2 separate regions of the Homo sapiens genome follow, and region 1 is linked to region 2. The links are contacts of gene promoters, found by promoter capture Hi-C in blood cells and fetal thymus (Javierre and others, 2016). All regions are on one chromosome and are shown on one strand. Each heading gives the region's core, a stretch centred on a gene start or on the middle of the fragment in contact. The rest is flanking DNA. Distances are from core to core; before and after follow the strand shown. Region 1 holds the start of LOC102723529 (a long non-coding RNA gene). Region 2 holds the start of ATP2B4 (ATPase plasma membrane Ca2+ transporting 4).

Region 1 (7,663 bases), core at 59-2,558, 250 kb before region 2:
TTAACTAGAACACAGAGACTGGCCCAGAGGGGTTAAAGTGGTGAAATGAAAAGAAGGGTGTATCATCCTGGGAGCACTGAAAGGAAGTGATATAAAAGTGATGGGGACAGGTGCAGTGGCTGATGCCTGTAATCCCAGCACTTTGGGAGACCAAAGTGTGTGGATCACAAGGTCAGCAGTTCGAGACCAGCCTGGCCAACATGGTGAAACCTCGTCTCTACTAAAAATACAAAAAATTAGCCAGATGTTGTGGTGCATGCCTGTAATCCCAGCTACTTGGGAAGCTGAGGCAGGAGAATCGCTTGAACTCAGGAGGCAGAGGTTGCAGTGAGCTGAGATCCCAGCTACTGGGGAGGCTGAGGCAGGAGAATCACTTGAACCCAGGAGGTGGAGGTTGTAGTGAGCTGAGATTGCACCACTGCACTCCAGCCTGGGCAACAGAGCAAGACTCTGTCTCAAGTTTAAAAAAAAAAAAAATGATGAGCCGGCTGGGCTTTGGGAGGCCAAGGTAGGTGGATCACCTGAGGTCAGGAGTTCGAGACCAGCCTGGCCAACATGGTGAAACCCCATCTCTACTAAAAATACAAAAATTAGCCAGGTGTGGTGGCTGGTGCCTGTAATCCCAGCTACTCGGGAGGCTGAGGCAGAAGAATCGCTTGAACCTGGGAGGTGGAGGTTGTGGTGAGCCAAGATCACGCCATTGCACTCCAGCCTGGGTGACAAAATGAAGACTCTGTCTCAAAAAAAAAAAAAAAAAAAGTGATGGGCCTCTGGGATGATGGCCCCAACCATTGGGATCACACAGCCGCTGGGGAAATAAACCCCCAAAATGCTGTTTGAGCAAGATGGCCAAAAAATGGTACCCTTGCCGCCACACCCACTCTGCATCAGTCAATCCTGGCACTCAAGACCCAGAGAGGCTGCAAATGCTTCTCAATGGAGTGCCTGAGGGAGCCACCACCATGTTTGGGGATTGATGTGAAGGTAACACTTAGTGGGCATCCCCGTCTGGAAAAATAAGCGAAGCAGCTGAGCTTCACCACATATTAAAAAACCAGCCCTAACAGATATCTGGTGAAGATATCTTCACCACAGGCAAAATAGGAAAGTAAGAAAGAGGCAGGGGTGAGCAGAGACTGGCTCCTCTTCTTCCTGGGAACACAGCTACCCTACATTTCCCAGCCTCCCTTGTGGCCATTTGACTGGGCTCCAGCCAATGGAATGTGAGGAGAAGCCACGGGCCTCTTCCAGGCCTGGTGCGTAAGTCTACCCCACACAGTCCTTTGCGATTTTCCTCTCCCACTTTGGGAGCCAGTGGATGAAGAGGGTGGAACCATAGAATAGAAGGAACCCAGATACAGATCACTGTTCAGAGGAGAGCTGCCTGCCAGTCAGGAAGACCCATTTTGGACTTTATGTGAGCAAAAAATACCTTCTTTCCTTCCTTCCCTCCTTCCTTCCTTCCTTCTTTCTTTTCTCTCCTTCCTTCCTTCCTTTCTCTCTCTCTTTCTTTTCCTTCCTTTCTTCCTTCCTTTCTCCTTCCTTCCTTTCTCCCTTCCTTCCTTCCTTCCTTCCTTCCTTCCTTCCTTCCTTCCTTCCTTCCTTCCTTCCTTCCTCCCTTCCTTCTTTCGACTCACTATGTTGCCTAGGCTGGTTTCAAATTCCTGGGCTCGAGAGATCCTCCCACCTCAGCCTCCCAAAGTGCTGGGATTACAGGCGTGAACCACCATGCCTGGCCAAAAACTAGATTACTGTCATATTTGATCCATAGAGAGTTTTAGGTTTATTATAGCAGTTAGTGTTATCTTAACTAACGCAAGGTGGAAGGGTAGGACTTGCAGAGGCCCATGGCTGAGAGACCTTGATTAAGGTTGGAGGGGGAACAATATGGCAGTCTTAGACCCCAGGGGGAAAGTCCTCTCTTGTCCTGGGGTCCAGGAAAAAGAAGAGGACTGGGGGCAGAGTGGAGGCATAGGCCATCCCAGAGTGGGGAGGAGAAAGGGAAGAAGGAAAGGGGACCCCTGGGGAGGCTGAGGCACAGACTCTAGGAGGGACTCTGCAGCTCTTCTACTGGCACCTCCGGTCTCCTGAATGCCAACGCTGCTGACCACTCTCCTTCCTCTTCACCACCTCTCCACTTTGGCCCCCTTTTCCCTTCTGTATTTCCTCCCATTTTCTGCCAGTGGTAAGGAGGGCTTTACCACTTTTTTGGAGTAAGGTCAGAGAAGACCTTTAAGAAATGCCAGCTCACAGAGAGAAATAACATAAACTGGTTCAAATGTTAGCTGAAGAGAGGCAGCTGCCTTTCATATTTGTACCAACAAAGGTTAAGTAAATCAATCACCCTTCAGAGTTAGTTCTCAGGGGAGGGAAAGGAGGAGGAATTTGTGATCTGAGGCCAGCAGTCTTAGCTGAGAGTCTGGTGCATTTCAAGGGAGAGAAAACCTTTAGTTAAAAGCTATCTTAGTGGTAATCCAAAGGGAAATTGAGCCAAGTGAAGTGCAAAGTAATTTCTGACCTTGGGACAAAGGGAAGGCAAAACTACGCCAGCTCCCAGGCCTGAAGGGAACACTTAGTTGATTAATGCTGTGCCTGCAGGCTCTGTTCACTCTAATAAAATGATATTTAAAGGTGCAGGGTTTACCAAGCTGTGGTCTCTAAGGGAGCACAGAAGATTTCTAGAAAGGGTTCCAGGGCCTTCACGGTATGCTCCGTGCTTGCGCCCGCCACCCCTCTTGTCTGTAGACTGTCACTGGGTACAGTGACAGTCTGCAGTGCTGTTTTGATTCCTCAGAACCTTTTATGAAGGACAACTTCCAAAGAATTAGACCCTGGAGCTCCCTTAAATACAAGCCAATGAAAATGGCATTTTTTCCCCCTAGAAATGCTCTGACCTTAAAAGGAATATTGGAGGCAGGAGGAAACAGAGGAAGCAAGAAGAATTTCCTGGAAGGTAATTATTGTAATATAAGCATACTTCGGAGATATTGCAGGTTCCGTTCCAGACCACTGCAACAGTGAATATCTCAATCAAGTGAGTCACATGAATTTTTTGGTTCCCTAGTGCATATAAAAATTATGTCTATACTATACTAGGGTCTATTAAGTGTGCAATAGCATTATGTCTAAAAAACATTGTACATACCTTAATTTAAAAATGCTTTATTGATAAAAATGCTAATGAACATCTGAGGCTTCAGCAAGTCATAACCTTTTTGCAAGTGGAGGGTCTTGACTCATGTTGATGGCTGCTGACTGATCAGGGTGGTGGTCACTGAAGACTGAAGTGGCTGTGGCAATTTCTTAAAATAAGATGACAATGAAGTTTGCCACATTGATTGACTCTTCCTTTCATGAAAGATTTCTCTGTAGCATGTGATGCTGTTTGATAGCATTTTACCCAGAGTGGAACTTGTTTCAAAATTGGAGTCAATCTTCAGCTCTACTACTGCTTTATCAACTATGTTTATGTAATATTCTAAATCTTTTGTTGTCACTTCAACAATGTTCACAGCATCTTCACCAGGAGTAGATTTTATCTTAAGAAGCCACTTTCTTTGCTCATCCAGAAGCTACAACTCCTCATCATGAGATTTCAGCAGTTCAGTTCCATCTTCAGGCCCTATTTTTAGTTCTCTTTAGTTCTCTTGCTATTTCCACGACATCTGCAATGACTTCCTCAACTGAAGTCTTGAACCCCTCAAAGTAATCCATGAAGGTGAGAATAAACTTCTTCCAAATTCCTATTAATGTTGATATTTTGACCTTGATTGTTCTTAATGGCATCTAGAATGGTGAATCCCTTCCAGAAGGTTTTCAACTTACTTTGCCCAGATTCATCAGAGGAATCATTATCTATGGCAGCTATAGCCTTACAAAATGTATTTCTTACATCATAAGACTTGAAAGTTGAAATTATTCCTTAATCCATGGGCTTCAGAATGGATGTTGTGTTAGCAGGCATGAAAACATTCATCTCCTTGTGCGTCTCCATCAGAACTCTTGGGTGGCCAGGATTATTGTCAACGAGCAGTAATATTTTGAAAGGAATCTTTTTTTCTGAACAGTATGGCTCGATAGTGGACTTAAAATAGTTCATAAACCATATTGGAAACAGATGCGCTGTCATCCAGGCTTTGTTGCCCTATTTATAGAGCATAGGCAGAGTATATAGGGTCTCACTCTGCTGCCCAGGCTGGAGTGCAGTGGCAAAATCATAGTTCCCTACGGCCTTGAACCCTTGGTCCCAAGAAATCTTCCTGCTTTAGCCTCCAAAATAGCTGCAGCTACAGGTACACACCATCACACCTGGCTAATTTTTTTTTTTTTTAATTTTGTAGAGATGGGGTCTGGCTCTGTTGCCCAGGCTGGTCTTGAACACCTGGGCTCAAGTGATTCTCCCATCTCAGCTTCTCAAAGAGCTGGGATTACAGGCATGAGCCACTGCTCCTAGCCGCATAATTCCTTAGAGTTTTCAAAATGGTAAATGAGCATTGGCTACAACTTAAAGCCACCAGCTGCATTAGCCCCTAACATGAGAGTCAGCCTATCCTCTGAAACTTTGAAGCCAGGCATTGACTTCTCCTCTCTAGCTATGAAAGTCTTAGATGGCATTTTCTTCTTTAAAGAAGCCTGTTTTATCTACATTGAAAAGCTGTTGTTTAGTGTAGTCACCTTCATAAGTTACCTTAGCTAGATCTTCTAGATAACTTGCTGTAGTGTCTACATCAGCATTTGTTGCTGCACCTTGTACTTTTATGTTATGGAGATGACTTCTTTCCTTAAACCTAATGAACCAACATCTGCTAGCTTCTGCAGCTTCCTGACCTCTCTCAGCCTCTTCTATGGGATTGAAGAGAGTTAGGGCCTTGCTCTGAATTACGATTTGGCTCAAGGGAGTATTGTGGCTGGTTTGATCTATCCAGACCACTAAAACTTTCTATCAGGAGTAAGGCTGTTTTCTTTCTTATCATTCATGTGTTCACTGGAATAGCACTTTTAATTTTCTTCAAGAGCTTTTCCTTTGCATTCAAAACTTGGCTGTTTGGCACAAGAGGCCTAGCATTCAGCCTATCTCAGCTTTGGACATACCTTCCTCACTAAGCTTAACAGTTTCTAGCTTTTCATGTAAAGTGAGAGACATGACTCTTTCACTTGAACACTTAGAGGCTATCCTAAGTTTATTAATTGGCTTAATTTCAATGTTGTGTGTCTTAGGGAATAGGGAGGCCCAAGGAGAAGAAGAGAGATGGGGGAAAGCTGGTGGGAGCAGTCAGAACACACACATTTATCCATTGAGTTTGCCATCTTACGTGGGTGCGGTTCATGATACTACAAAACAATTACAGTAGTAGCATCAGAGATCACTGATCACAGGTCACCATAACAGGCATAATAATAATAAAAATGTTCGAAATAATATGAGAATTACCAAGATGTGACACAGAGACAGGAAGTGGCCACATGCTGTTGGAAAGATGGCACCAATAGATTTGTTTGACACAGGGTCGTCACCGACCTTCAAGTTTTTTAAAAAGTCATGTCTGCAAAGTGCAATAAAGGAAAGTACAATAAAATGAAGTATGACTGACTATAAAACTTCAGATCTAAAACTATCTGAGAACTGGTAGCAACAGTATAATGTAGAGGAAAAAGCATGAGTTCTGGAATCCTGGAGTTATGAATATATCTTTATTTCACCCTCCTTTAGGAAGAACAGATTTTTCTAGGTACACAATTTCAGGTTGAGAGGTTTGTTTTTTCTTTCTCTCAATATGGTTCCACTTCCTTCGAGCTTCCGTTATTACTCTTGGGGATTATACAATAAATCTATGCCATTATTTTGCAGGTGATTTCTCTTTTCTGTCTTACTGGTTATAAGATCTCTTTGACTCTATTATTTTTCAGTTTTTCTGAAATGTGTCTAGTAACGAATTTAGTTTTGCTTATTCTGCTTGGTATATGTTGTATCCTCTATCTATGGACTCATGTTTCTCCTCTGAGAAATTCTCTTCAAATATTCACTGTCTTCTCTCCTTCTGGAATTCTGATTAGATGTTTATTCAATTTCTCATTCTATCTTCCATTATTGCTTCATGCCTTTACGTATTCTGTTAGTCTTAATAATTTCTTCAGATTTCTCTTCGGGTTTACTAATTTTCTCTTCAGCTATATTTAATCTTCTACTTAAACTCTTTATTATGTTTTAAAATTCAAAAATTATTTCATCATTTACTAGCTTTGTGGCCTTGGACAAGTGTCTCCACCTCTGTGTGCTATTTTTCTCACCTGTGGAATAGGATAATAATTATCCTTACATGATTGTGATGGAAATTAAGTATGTTGATACACAAAGCCAGTGATCCATGCTATTATAATAAATGCCCAATAAACATAAGATTCTTACAAATTCCAGAGGTTGGCCGGGCACAGTGGCTCACACCTGTAATCCCAGCACTTTGGGAGGCCGAAGCAGGTAGATCACTTGAGGTCAGGAGTTCAAGACCACCCTGGCCAACATGACAAAACCCCATCTCTACTAAAAATACAAAAATTAGCTGGGCATGATGGTGCACGCCTGTAGTCCCAGCTACTTGGGAGGCTGGGGTGGGAGAATCGCTTGAACCCAGGAGGTAGAGATTGCAGTGAGCCGAGACTGCACTACTGCACTCCAGCCTGGGTGACAGAGTGAGACTCTGTCTCAAAAAACAAACAAACAAAAACTTCCAGAGGTCATTCTGATGATTGTATGAACCTCCGTGATTCTGATTCTAACTCATCTCAGAGAACTAGGAGTCTTCTCTCAGAATCACCTGGAACAGACTTCACAAACACTTCAGAAAGCCTTTATCATATCTCACAACTCATAAAGAAGTAGACGTTTTCTGTTGGTTCTAACCCCATTATGCTACAACAGGATCTCATGTCTTTGTGTCTTCTTATCCTCAAAAGGAAGATGACCACGGCCCCTCTGTTCCCTCGCCTGTGTGCCAAATGGATCCACAGCTAGAGACAAGCTCCTTCCCTTTGAACGGTGGGAAGCAGGCCAAGATGTTTTAAAGACAGATGGCATCAGATGCAGAGAAGCAAGGTTAGGCTTGATTCATCTAAACCTGTCCCCTTCAGAGCCCCCTCCCACACCCTTCCCCTGACAACTGAGTGATAAAATTCTGTCCCTGGATGAAGTCAACAATCCTTATCATGACAGAAAACTGCAAATATTTGGTGTTTTTCCATTGCACACAGGGCTTAAGGGAACATAGGGAATCTCAAAACAGAAATGTGTTTGGGGGTGTGTGTATGTGTGTGTGTGTTCAATCCTTTCTTCAAAATATTTCAGCTCCTCTATTTTTAGAAGATGATGACATTCTCCCAGCATTTCAACCAGGTTTTCAGAAGTCACGAGGCTCAGTCCTGCACGCACACAATCACATCTGCCTATACAAAGACACAGAGAAACATACATAGCTACTCACACATAATTCCATACACGTTTAAATGCCCAGGCATCTAGAAAATGACCCTCACATATGCCCGTCTACACACATACATGTATACCTGCATCTGGGTTCACAACAGACCACACCCTAACACATACATACACATACACACCACACTCTAACACATAATGTGAATAAATAGAAACTAGTAAATAGAGCTATTT
Region 2 (7,485 bases), core at 47-2,546:
TGAGCTGTTGGGTTAGAATGATAGGATCAAAGAGGCCTTTTCCCAACCCTCTGTTTAAAAGGTTGGGAAGTAGTGGCCAGTCACCTTCTTCACAGCATAGCTCATAGCTATAACCTGTGAGACATATGTCAATGTGCCTTCCATAAGCATATAAACATGAGTGTGTTTGCTGAGGTAGGTGTGGGAATCTGTCAGTCAATGAAGATATGTTGTGTGAACCAGCTGATGGTGCATGTTTGTGCTTGAAAGCCATAAAGTTCTATGCAAAATCTATGGGTGGCACTGTTGCACAATGCTAGTGGGTGTGTGGGTATGGGGGTGTGATTAACTGTTTACAGGCTGTGTATAAGTGTGCATGGATGTCTGAGTGTGTGCAAATTAAAACGGAAATATGTGCCGGAGTATGATACAAAGTACAGGAAAGTACTCGGGCTTTGGAGTCTGTCTGACTTGGTCTTGAATCGTTGGCTCTGTCATTAGCCGGATGTATAACCTTGGGCCAGACACTCAATCTTCAATTCCCTCAACTAGGAAATGAGGTTAATAATAAGTACCTTTCAAGATTAAATGAGGACTAGAAACGATACCATATAGACAAAGCTTTTGGTGTCATAGCCCACGCATAGCAGGACTCAAAAGTAAGCAGCTATTTTCATGCACTGTCAGTATACCTCTGGTGGGTACAGGGACAAGAGGGAACAAAATGTGACCTGTATATAAGGTGTAGGGGAGGACGGGTGTGTGTGTGTGTGTGTGTGTGTGTGTGTGTGTGTGTGTGTGTGTGTTTACAAAACAATTTATTCTCCTTCTCCAAGGAACCCCCTATTCAGACAGGAGCAGGAAGGTAGGAGGGGACATACAAGTGTCCACAGACACCTCGGGTTTCTGGGTCCTGGATCTAAGTGAGTAAGGGGTTGAGAGGCCCGTAGGAGCTGCAGGAAGCCAGCCGCCTGCCCAAGCTTCCTTTTTTTTCCCCTCCGCCCAGCAACCGTTGAATACCGCCACCCACATCCACTCCCCACCTCCACCCTCACCCCTCCTCCACCCCTACTCAGCTTTCTATTCAACAAGTGAGAGCAAGGGCGGGGAAGAAAGCCGACAGGGGAGAGGATTGCTTCCCTTTCTTTTCCCATTCCCCCTTAAGACGAACCAGGAAGTAACCGCAAGAATCGGGCCACCTTAACAGTAGAGTAATGGTTTGGCCTCGCGCCAAGTCCCACCTCTGTTCCAGCTCCTGCTCCTCCCCTCTCTCTTCCCGCACTGCTTGGGGAGAGCTGGTGAGCAAGAGTCTGGCCCGAGTTAGCTAGAGCTGTTGCCATGACAAGCATTTTCTTAAGAAAGCTCTGCTGTTGAGATCGTCCAAAGCTGGGGGCTGGGAGGGGGGGCACGAACTTCGTGGGGCACCATCCCTCCGAAGAGAGCAAGATCAGAGACACCCGCCCAGCTCTCCTGCACCCTTTTTCTTTCAGGAACCTGAGAGGTCCTTCCCATTGGAGGGGCAGGGGGAGGAGACCCAGCCCACTCCCCGGCCTTAGCCAGAAAGGCAAGAGAGCAAAGCCAGCGTCTCTAGCTTGGTTGCCACACTGGGGAGACTGGTGGGTGGTCACCCCACCCTACCCTCATCCATGGAAACCCGGAGGGAGAGTCCCGCCTGAAGAAACCTGGATCTTTGCTAGAAAGAGAGGTAGGCTTGCAGAGAATGAATTGACTTGTGATTTGCAAACTTTGTTTCTTTCTTTTCTCTCAATGGCTTCTAAAACTCCCCGATTTTCCTCTTTCTAGAATATTTCATGCGACTGGGTTTGGAGGATTTTTTTTAAAATATGTGTGTGTGCACAGATTTGTCAAATACTGTTTTACCTATTATCAGTTCTGAGAAACCATATAGTCGAACAAGTGATTTATCTCTCTTTTCCTAGTTCTTGTCATTCCTGGGCTATGGGGTAGGGTAATGGAGGGTTCTCTTTTTGACACCAAAATTGAGCTCTTGGAAAAAATATTTATCTCCCCTCCCTCAACCCATTCCGTTCCTGCCCTCCCCTTCCCCCCTTGGCTTGGGAATGAGACGCAGGATGGAAAACTGTTGCAAAAATATTTTCCGTGTCTGTTCCCTTTCTCGAAAGCCCAAAAGAGAGATGGAAAAAAAAAAAAAAAAGGAACCAAAGAAATCTTCAGCAGAAAGAGGGGCTGCAGCGGGAACTAGGAGAGGGGCACTTTGGGGCCATGGGGTGGAGGTGGGCTGGGAGAAGTTGGCAGGAGTGGGGAAGGAGAGTGCACGAATTAAATTTCTTTAGCTTTGCAGAGAAACCTCAGCAGTTTCTCTGTGCTGCTTGCAAAACATCCTCAGACTTTCACATGTATAATTAGCTGTGGAAAAAGCTGGGAGTTACCTCGTACCGCTGTTGTTTGAGTGTGTGTGAGCGTCCAGAACCAACTGTATGAGTGTCTCCGAGGGCACCGCCCCACACATCTCTGGTCCCAAAGGGGAGGAAGGAGAAGGGTGAATTGAAAAGTTTCCGATGTCGAGGCTGGACACTGTGGGGCTGGTGAGTGTTTGGCAGATGGGGTGGGCCACAGGCATCTGTGGAAGGATCCCTGAGCGTCTCGGGCCACTGCCTTGGCTTGCTGAAGAGCTAGGAATTAAGACTGGGATTGTCCTTCCTGCTCTCCCTTCTCTCTTTCTTTTACATACTTGGCTCGCTCTTGGTAGAGGGGGCTGCTGGCATCCTTCCCCGAGTCGAGTCTGGCCTCTTACACTCCTCCACCTCCCTGAGGGTACCCGCCGCTCTTCTCCAACTGGGTGTGGAGGGTGCAGGAGTGGCCAGCCGCATCTTGGGAGGGGAGTGGGCACTCTGCTGCCAGAGGCACGTCCCTCCTGGGCATTCCTGCCGGACTTAACAATAACTTGCAGACGTGATGCCGGCGCCTGCTGGCCGGGCAGGGGGAATGTCAGATGAAGAAATAGGCCGGTACTCAACTGAGGCCCCTGTGGAGAGGGGAAAGGAGTGGGGGAGGGAAGGGAAACAAAATCCCATTCTGCAGCGCCCCCCTCCTCTGTGTGAGGAGTCTGGCAGGGAGTCTAGAGACCCTGGCCCTGCTCCTTAAGCCCCTCCCCAAGCTGCCCCTTCTCCACGCGCTTCCCATTGGAGGCCCTACTACGCCCCCTCCACTCTGAGCCCTCTACCTGGAGGAAGGAGACCAGGCTCATTCCAGGCTGGGCCAGGCCCAGGAAAGCAGCCTGGGAGTGACGAGGGGCTGGGCCAGGAGTGTTTAGGAAGAAGGGGAGTGGAAGAGGCCTCCTAGCCCATGTGCTGAGTTACCCTCCTTGGCTGAGGGTGGTGGCTTGGGGAGCAGACTCTGGGAGGGGCAGGAAGGATGGTGGCAGCTTGGTAAGGCGTGTTCTGGAAGGTGGGCCCTAAACCCTGAAGCAGACAAATCTGTGGGAATCAGGCTGGGGGAGAGGAAACACCTGCCTTCAGCCCCAGGGCTTGGAGGAGTGGTAAAGGCTACAGCTGAGACACTGCGGGAGAAGGAAGTAAAACACTTAGAGGAGAGCTCATCTCGGGGCTGGGGATGCAACAGGAACGATTTGATTTTCACTTTGAGGTGTTGATTGATCTGACTGCACCCCTCGGCTAGACAGCTCTTCCCTACCTGTGTTCTGCTCGAGAAGGGAATGAGGCCTTCCCCAGTGGGCAGGGCCCCCAAGACAGAATTAATGCCCGTGTTCTGGAGGGAGGGGATCCATTTCTATACTCCTCCTCGGGAGTCCCATCCTCCCTGCCACCATCTTGCTGAGGTGCAACCTCGAAAATCACGCCGCTTTCGCCGCGGCCTCCCATCGTGGAGGCTCAGAGTGCAGCTATTCCTGCAGCCGGCCTTCCTATTTTCAGTAATCTGATTAGGGGTCGATGTTGGTGGGCTCGGGGACGGCTTCTCCGTGAGGTCGTTATTTAGCGCGCACCGGGTCGCCTGAGCCCGGGGTCGCGGCCAAAGGGGTAATCGGCTCCCGCAGTCTCAGCCCTTCCCCCGGGGCTCGGGGCAGGATTGACTGCGCAACCCTGCGGCCCCTGTGCTCTCCGCGGCCTCTGCGACCCCGCCCCGCCAGCCTCTCCGCCGCTGGGCTCCACCCTCCCGGGCTCTGCTGTAGTCTGAGAACTCCGTGGAGAATGCGAACCGAGCGGCGAACGGAGGCTTCCTGCCTCCCAGGTTGTGCCGAGCCTCAGACCCTTCTCCCTTCCATTTACCACCAAGTCTCTAGATTCAAGGTCAAGTCAAAGGAGCACAGCCCGTCTTACCCCTGGGACTCCCAGCGCCCAGCACGGAGCCTGGGATGTTAGAGCGCTGGGTCAAGGCATGTTGAGAGAAGCACGGGCAGTTTGGGGGCCTTGGAATCAGCCTGACGCCAGCGAGTTCCTAACCCGCCGTCTGGCCTCCAGTTTCCCCTCTGCACAATGGAAAGCCTGCTCTCCACGGTAGAGGTGACAGGGCGTGGCTAGGCAGATTTGTCACACTGCTGTGGTCTTTGTCAGAAGAAAATCAAAATGAGAGGGCCCAGTTAGGGGCAGAAGGAGAGCAGTTAGAATTTGCCGAAGGTGTGGGGGCTGGAAGAGGTAAGGTGATGTGTAGGGGCTGGATGTCCTGGGCCAGGATATCGGGAGGCTTTACTCTTCCCCACTCCCACTAACCGGAGGTCCCGAGAGGAACGGGGTCTGGGCTGCTCCCTGCCACCTGTCAGCAGGTCAAGCCTTCCACCGGAAACTGCCCCTTATTCAAGAATTTAGCTTCTCTCAAAAACTCCGAAACCCCTTTTCTCTCTCTCTCTCTCTCTCTCTTTTTTTTTTTTTTTTTTCAATGCTCCTGGCCTTGGACCCAGCACCCAAAGACATGGATTAGCCCTATCCACTAGGACAGAGCATTGCAGACCCACTAAGCCTTGGAGAGAGAAAAGGATCTTGTTCATTCTTAGTCCCCAGAATGACCAAGACAAACCCCGTTAGCCAAACCCCTAAAAAACTGTTTGGCTTAGGTTAGATTAGCTCCAAGTGTTTGACCTTGAAGGGGAACACCCCACCCAGAGTCTTAACTATCCTTCTCTGGAAGGATTCTTCAGGCAATCTGAATTCTTCCCCCGAAGGGCGCCCCTCAGACAAGGCTCCCTACCCAGCCCAGTTCCCTGCTTCTCAGATAAGCATTGATTCCTGTCATCCCAGTGGGTATTTGGTGGGTAGGGGTGAGAAGGAAAGAGGGATGAGAAAAGCAAGGCCTCTGCCTTGTCAGACTGGGATGACAACCTTTCTCCACTCATGTCCCCTTTTCTGCAGGTCATAGGATTAGAGCAGGCCCTGGGGCTGGAGTCCAAAATGCTTGTGTGGAATGTTTTGCCCTTGGCTTCCTCTGCCAGTATCTCTCCTTGTGTCCTCTTTCCTCTTTCCCTTGTGTGAGCCATTCTTGTTCCACTGACTTATTTCCTCTGTACATGTTAAAACAGAAATGACAGGGACTTTCTATTTCTGCCTCTACCTTAAGCCAGTCCTCTGTGTTCAGCCTACATGAACTTGAGTTGAGGAGGGAAACCAGGCAGGATCTAGTGAGGACCAGAGCCAAGGGCTCTGGGTCAGGGAAGAGGCTTGAGAGGCAGTCTATGTGTGAAGGATAGTGGAGAGGCCAAAGGAAAGGAAAGGATTGAGAACATAGGTGCCAAGGGGCAGAGCCCCCATTTCTACCTTTCCTCACCCCAGTTCCTCTCTGCCTAAGATCCTCAGCCTCATTACTCACCTCTGCTCTAGTTTCCCAAGTTTCATGCACAAATCCCTGGGACAACTCAGGGAAGATGAACTGGGATGGGATTACTAAGACCCCCTTCCTCTTGCCTTTCTGCCACTTCACTTGGGGTGTGGCAAAGGGAGTTTGGAGCAGTGCGTTTATTGGTAGGAAGGTCAGGGACTCTCAGCTAGGTTCAAGGAAAGTCTTAGCTTAGAACACCTCATGGCAAGGTCTACCTAGGTTGCGAAATCAATGCCAGGAATACAAACAAGTAGTATACCCTCAATACTAACAGCCCATCTAACATCCCAGGCTCCGTGCTGGGCGCTGGGAGTCCCAGGGGTAAGACGGGCTGTTAGTATTGAGCCCGGGAAGTTAGCAATATCTAACAAAGCTACGTACACATTTACCCAGCAATCCTACGTCTAGGAATTTATCCAGAAGGTGCTCATTCACAAATATGGAAAGCTACGTACAAGGTGATTTTTGTTTGTTTGTTTGTTTGTTTTTTGAGACAGAGTCTCGCTCTGTCGCCCAGGCTGGAGTGCAGCGGCGCGATCTCAGCTCACTGTAAGCTCTGCCTTCCGGGTTCAAGCAATTCTCCTGTCTCAGCCTCGTGAGTAGCTGGGATTACAAGTGCTAGCCACCACACCGGCTAATTTTTTGTATTTTAATAGAGATGGGGTTTCACCGTGTTGCCCAGGCTGGTCTCAAACTCCTGAGCTCAGGCAATCTACCTGCCTGAGCTGGGATTATAGGTGTGAGCCACCAAGCCCAGCCACAAGGTGGTTTTTAAAGGCATATTTACAATAGGAAATCATTGGAAACTATCCAAATGCCCATTCTTTAAAAAATGGTTAAACAAACAATGGTACAGTCCATACAATAGAATCCTAGGTAGCCAAAAAGAAAAAAAAAAGAATGACTAGGAGCCCTGTGAACTTATATGACATGATTGTTAGGATATATTATTAAGTGAAAAAACCAAGACATAGTACAGTATATAGTATGCCACCTTTGGGATAAGAAAGCAGGAGAAGTAAGAAATTTTTTTTTTTTTGAGACAGAGTCTCGCTCTGTTGCCCAGGCTGGAGTGCGGTGGTGGGATCTCGGCTCACTGCAAGCTCTGCCGCCCGGGTTCACGCCATTCTCCTGCCTTATCTTCCTGAGTAGCTGGGACTACAGGCGCCTGCCACCACGCCCGGCTAATTTTTTGTATTTTTAGTAGAGACAGGGTTTCACCATGTTAGCCAGGATGGTTTCGATCTCCCGACCTCATGATCCGCCCACCTCAGCCTCCCAAAGTGCTGGGATTACAGGCGTGAGCCACCACGCCTGGCCTAATTTAAGTACTTTTTAACCTTCATTCCCTGATTCTATATTCATATTTTAAGTAAAAAAAAAAAAAAAAACCACCTACAAAGAAATCTTGACCTTTACTTTGTAGACATGTTATTGGTTGTGGTATTTGTGTCATAAATTGGAAACTGTTTCGTTTATTGTATGATAGATGAAATGAGTAACTATGGTGATATTTCTGGAAATCAGGGTCTCACTATGGAAAAAGAGAGATATAAGTATGGAATGGGGGAAGGGGAAAAAGAATCTTTCGGGGTTTTTTTGTATATCTTGTGGGTCTGTCCACTGAAAGGACTGTGGAAAGGAACACACCTAGTACCTGGATTTTTATTTCTAAGTACAACTTCCCACGGGGGAGGT

The links. The method cuts DNA at HindIII sites, captures the fragments that hold promoters and counts their contacts. A CHiCAGO score of 5 or more calls a contact.
Region 1: a fragment that was not itself captured here is called in contact with the fragment with the promoter of ATP2B4 in region 2 in 2 of 17 cell types (M2 macrophages and M0 macrophages); the score reaches 8.6 in M2 macrophages.

The regions. Positions count from the first base shown.
Region 1 is chr1:203,371,696-203,379,358 of GRCh38, forward strand. LOC102723529 (a long non-coding RNA gene) reads left to right here and starts at 1,288. Exons shown (of 7, transcript XR_922438.3): 1 at 1,288-1,417; 2 at 2,883-3,034; 3 at 3,515-3,718; 4 at 6,952-7,090. The HindIII fragment of the contact is 7,588 bases long and covers 1-5,102 here.
Region 2 is chr1:203,625,536-203,633,020 of GRCh38, forward strand. It overlaps ATP2B4 (ATPase plasma membrane Ca2+ transporting 4), which reads left to right and starts at 1,297. Exons shown (of 21, transcript NM_001684.5): 1 at 1,297-1,684. RefSeq lists enhancers at 291-1,165, 1,166-2,038, 4,252-4,938 and silencers at 3,998-4,077, 4,138-4,197. The HindIII fragment of the contact is 13,651 bases long and covers 958-7,485 here.